2 separate regions of the Homo sapiens genome follow, and region 1 is linked to region 2. Evidence: promoter capture Hi-C in 16 types of primary human blood cells and fetal thymus (Javierre and others, 2016). All regions are on one chromosome and are shown on one strand. Each heading gives the region's core, a stretch centred on a gene start or on the middle of the fragment in contact. The rest is flanking DNA. Distances are from core to core; before and after follow the strand shown.

Evidence for each region. Contacts are between HindIII fragments. The CHiCAGO score rates a contact against its expected background, and 5 or more counts as called.
Region 1: a contact is called between a fragment that was not itself captured here and the fragment with the promoter of UPF3B in region 2, in 1 of 17 cell types (naive CD8 T cells). The highest score is 5.5, in naive CD8 T cells.

Annotation. Positions count from the first base shown.
Region 1 is chrX:119,619,887-119,622,586 of GRCh38, reverse strand. It overlaps SEPTIN6 (septin 6), which reads left to right. Exons shown (of 11, transcript NM_145799.4): 11 at 2,536-2,700. Among named protein-coding and RNA genes, the nearest start is that of NKRF, 15 kb to the right of the region's middle. The HindIII fragment of the contact is 8,378 bases long and covers 1-2,700 here.
Region 2 is chrX:119,851,713-119,854,412 of GRCh38, reverse strand. UPF3B (UPF3B regulator of nonsense mediated mRNA decay) reads left to right here and starts at 1,450. Exons shown (of 11, transcript NM_080632.3): 1 at 1,450-1,640; 2 at 2,540-2,646. The coding sequence starts at 1,485. RefSeq lists an enhancer at 1,416-1,475. The HindIII fragment of the contact is 8,775 bases long and covers 1-2,700 here.

The DNA.
Region 1 (2,700 bases), core at 199-2,698, 230 kb after region 2:
AGGCAATTGGTAAACAGCTGGAACAGCCAACCCCAACCCCAAGTAGGTTGGCTCTTCCTGGCAGGATTCTCCCTGGCAGACCACGAAAGCAATTTCAGACCAACGAGTCAGGGGAGGCTTTGGCTCCCCAGGATCTGAAAGCAGCAAAGGCAACCCGCCCCCTCCTCAAAGCCCTCATTCAAGGGGTGGATCACGAAGGCCACCTAGAATGCAGGCAGAGTGAGGCTTACTGTGCCTCCACATTTTGAAATTGCTTGAGGCACTACTTATAGCTCTCTGCATTTGTAAAAGCGATTCCTTTGTGACCCCCTACATCGTTGCAGATACTCTACCTCAATCATTATTGGTCCTTAGGAGTGCACAGTATATGGATAGTATACACACATCAAAATACGTCAGCCTTCCCATGAAACCTAGAACATAGGCCATTGCAGTGTTTTTTAGATTACTCTTCCCCTAGGAAGTAGACAAAGAATAAAAATAAGATATGAGCATTTGTATAGCTTTTATTACTTTCCAAAGTGTTTTTTTTTGTTGTTGTTGTTTTGTTTTTGTTTTTGTCTTTTGTATAGTATCTCATTTTATACTTACAACAGGTCTGTGAGGTAGAGAAGGAATAATCCCCAGTTTGCAAGATGAGTAAATGGAAGCTGGGCGAGGTGGCTCACTTATGTAATCCTAGCACTTTGGGAGGCTGAGGTGGGAGGATCACTTGAGCCCAGGAGTTGGAGACCAGCCTGGGCAGCATGGTGAAACCCTATCTCTCTATTTTTTTTTTTTTTTTTTAAGAGAGTTGGCTGGGCATGATGGCTCACGCCTGTAATCCCAGCACTTTGGAAGGCCGAGGCAGGAGGATCACCCGAGGTCAGGAGTTCAATACCAGCCTGGCCAACATGGTGAAACCCTGTCTCTACTAAAAATACAAAAATTAGCTGGGCATGGTGGCGGGTGCCTATAATCCCAGCTACTTGGGAGGCTGAGGCAGGAGAATTGCTTGAACCCCAGAGGCGGCGGTTGCAGTGAGCCAAGATCGCACCATTGCACTCCAGCCTGGGTGACAGAGCAAGACTCCATCTCAAAAGAAATAAAAATACACACACACACACACACACACACACACACACACACACACACACACACCAGCTCTGGGCCCAGCTGTGACTCTTTGCAGCCACAGGCAAGTCTGTTGACTTCTCTGTGTTTCTTGGTCTACTCATATGAAATGGGGATCAGTTCTACTTGCTGTATTTATGTCACAGGAATGAAATTTACATGGAAGAGAGGTCAAAGTATTATTTAAGCACAAACCAATGATGGGTTTCCATAGTTCACATTTTCAGGTAACTGTGGTCTGGACCCTAGAACAGAGTTCTGCAATCATCCCCATATGCTCTGCAAACAGGTCTTGCCCCAGAGTACCAGTTAGCTGACTAGGACAGCTCTAAGGATCTCCTGGGGTGAAACCTCAGCCTCCTCTACTTTCCCAATGGGACAGGAAATGCAGTGGCTAGAGCCTGGGGCTCTATCCAGTGGCCTGAGGCCACTTAGAGATTTGTGGAAGGTATTCCTGTACAAGGTATTGGGTGGTGGTGCTGGGGGTGGGTGGTGGTGCTGGGGGTGGGTGGTGGGGGACACTAGTCAGGACCTAGTCATTAAGAAGAGATAGGCCGGGCTCAGTGCCTCACGCCAGTAATCCCAGCACTTTGGGAGGCTGAGGCGGGTGGATCACTTGAGGTCAGGAGTTCGAGACCAGCCTGGCCAACATGATGAAACCCCCGTCGCTACTAAAAATACAAAAATTAGCCGAGCGTGGTGGCAGGCGCCTGTAATCCCAGATACTCAGGAGGCTGAGGCAGGAGAATCGCTTGAAATTGGAAGATGGAGGTTGCAGTGAGCCAAGATCACGGCCACTGCACTCCAGCCTGGGCAAAAGACCAAAACTCCATCTCAACAACAACAACAAAAAAGAGCCGGGTGCAGTGGCTCACGCCTGTAATCCCAGCACTTTGGGAGGCCAAGGCGGGCAGATCATGAGGTCAGGAGATCGAGACCATCCTGGCTAACACGGTGAAACCCCGTCTCTACTAAAAATACAAAAAAATTAGCCGGGTGTGGCGGCGGGCTCCTGTAGTCCCAGCTGCTGGGGAGGCTGAGGCAGGAGAATGGCGTGAACCCGGGAGGCAGAGCTTGCAGCGAGCCGAGATCGCACCACTGCACTCCAGCCTGGGTGACAGAGCAAGACTCTGTCTCAAAAAAAAAAAAAAAAAGAAAGAAAGATAAAATGTATTTTTGTGGTTGTTGATCATTATTTTGCTGGCTAATGCCACTGCTGCCATCATGTGGGAGTGTGTGTGGAGTGTATGAGAGAGAAAGCATGTTCCCCGGAGCCAATGCAATAAGACCTTAAGACCATCTAACATAGCTATATTCTAATTTAGCCATTAGTCCTCATTACTTAATTTTCTTCTGACTTTTTTTTTTTTTTGGTACATTAATCTATCCATTCATTAACTCAGCTTCTCTTTTCATTTTCAGTTTGGGCTTCCTGTAGACACCCTTTTCCTGCGCAACAGAGCTGGGCCTCCCTTTCTCTAATTTCCCCCTTAACATGCCTGGGGGGCATACAATCCAACCCGCGCCCTCTCCTCTCTTCCTGCCAAGGTTTATAGAAACCTGAGAATCTGAGGGTGATGTCTGGCC
Region 2 (2,700 bases), core at 201-2,700:
AGCCTCCCAAATAGCTGGGACTACAGGCGCCTGCCACCATGCCCAGATAATTTTTGTATTTTAGTAGAGACAGGGTTTCACCAAGTTGGCCAGGCTGGTGTCGAACTCCTGATCTCAGGTGATCCGCCGGCCTCGGCCTCTCAAAGTGCTGGGATTACAGGAATGTGCCACCACGCCCTGCTAATTTTTTTTGTTTTTAGTAGAGACAGGGTTTCGCCAAGTTAGCCAGGCTGGTCTCGAACTCCTGACCTCAGGTGATCCACCCACCTTGGCCTCCTAAAGTGCTGGGATTACAGGCGTGAGCCACCACGCCTGGCCGACTGATCTGCTTTCTATCACTGTGGTTTTATTTTTCTAAAATTTCATATAAATGGAATTGTACAACATGTACTCTGTGTCTAGATTCTGTCACTCAACATAATCACTGTTAGATTCACATTTGGATTGTTTCCAGTTTGGAGTTATTATAAATAATGTAAAATTGGCCCTTTTTAAGTGAAGATGGTGATCGCAACTAAATCAAGTTGGGTTTTATTTTTATTCCCCTCCCTGTGGGACATCAGTACCTGGGGAGAAGGATCCTTTTGCTAAAATAAGGTGATGAAAACAAATCTTGTATATTTTAGTCATATTACTCCTTTAAATATCAGTATCTTGTGTTTATTTATTATTATCCTTCTTTTTTATATACAGGGTCTCGCTCTGTCGCCCAAGCTGGAGTGCAGCGGCGCGATCATGGCTCACTGCAGCCTCGAATTCCTGGGCTCAAGATCCTCTCTTCTCAACCTTCCCGAGCAGCTGGGACTACAGGCGTGCGCCACTGAACTCGGCTAATATTGTAGTATTTACTAAGTATCTGTAAATCCTAATCAATATAAGGAAAATAAAGTTTTTTAAATGTTAGGCTTTTTCTTTTAGTTGTAGGAAAATAAATGCTAAAGCCTCTGAATTCAATGATAAAAAATACAAGTCGCTCCCCTAGTGAGGCAAAATTTGGACGGCATTGAGTTTATCTGATGGAAACTAAGCGTGAAGAACCTATCTTTCGACCTGGAAAACTCTGAAGATGAAAGGATTCGATTTACTCACAAACAGGGACCCTGAGATAGCTCTGGCCCCTGAACGCCCAACAAAAGCGGGTAGCTGCTTTGTATGCCGGGATTTGTAGTCCCCGACAGAGTCACTTCAAGATGGCGGAATTGCTAATGACGCGCGAAGGGGCGGGCCCCGAGGGAGTCTGGGCCGCGAGGGGATTGGGTGGCGCAGGAACTTGGCGGGCGGGAAGTAAAAACCAGGTGTTAAAACCTTTGCACTGGGAAAGGCCCAAGTCTCGCGAGAGCTTGGCAGGACCCAATGGAACGTGGGGCCCGACTTATCACAAGGGGCATTTGTTGGGGGCGGAGCTTTGACGGGAGCTTCCCGGGAGCCGTTTGTGCCCGGGGTAACCCCGTTCCGGCCAAGCCGCTTCAGCGGGGGACGTAGCCATGAAGGAAGAGAAGGAGCACAGGCCTAAGGAGAAGCGAGTAACCCTGTTAACCCCCGCCGGGGCCACAGGCAGCGGTGGTGGGACCTCGGGGGACAGCTCCAAGGGGGAAGATAAGCAGGATCGCAACAAGGAGAAGAAAGAAGCGCTGAGCAAGGTGCCCGGTCGGCCGCTGGCCCGGGAGAGGGCGGGACGAGTCCGCAGCGCGGGGAGGATGGCTGGGAATGGGGCTGCCCCCTTTCTTTCTCAGGTTCTCCTTCTATCTCTTCGCCTGAATGGAAGTCGCATCATCCTGGTTCATCCATTCACCCGAAATGGGGAGAGCCCCTCCCGGCCAAATCCTGGGTGGGGGTGAGGAAAAGAGGGGACTCCCCAAACGGGAAGGGTTTAGGTCAGAGCTGTGAGATGATAATGGGAGGGAAGAGCGACGGTATAAAGAATGAGGAACTAAAGGTGTAATTGGGGAGAAATATTAAATAGTGAAGGAGACATGAGGGATGGGAATATTATTCATGGAGGCGAGTTGGGGGAGAGTGCAGGGTGATTAATGGTACAGGAGGGTAGATCGAGAGCATCCTATTTTGAGAGCAATGGGTAGATTTTTTGTATTCGTTAGAGTTTTGAATTCTTAAGTTCAATGGGCAAGGATTTTGTTTTAAGATGTGTTGGACGTGGGAGAAACTTGTTGCTAAATCAAGATTTCGTGGCACCCACAAAGACCAGCGTTGGCTTACTAAGTTATTGCCACTAGATCTGTTAAAAAATGGGTGATCGAAAATGATGCACAAACCTGGTAAACTGCAGGGCTGCTGTAAAGAGCAAAACCTGCGATTTTTCCTTGCTCCAGGTGGTTCTCATTTCCAAGGGTTTTTTTAAACCGCGTTACTATTATGTTTGACTAATTCTGAGCATTGGGCTGCAGAAGAATATTTTCTCCTGGGTTTTTACAAGTGATCTCATATTTTAAAGCCCAGCCTTCTTCAGGAACTGTGATTCTTTCAGGTATGACAGAAAACTGATTTGTACTAATTTTATTTTCCTTATGCATTTCTTAAGGTGGTAATTCGAAGATTACCTCCCACTTTGACCAAGGAGCAGCTTCAGGAACATCTTCAACCTATGCCTGAGCATGATTATTTTGAGTTTTTTTCTAATGATACGAGGTAAAAAAAAAAAAAAAAGGAAAGGGGTAAATGAAAAAGGTTTCTTTCATTCTT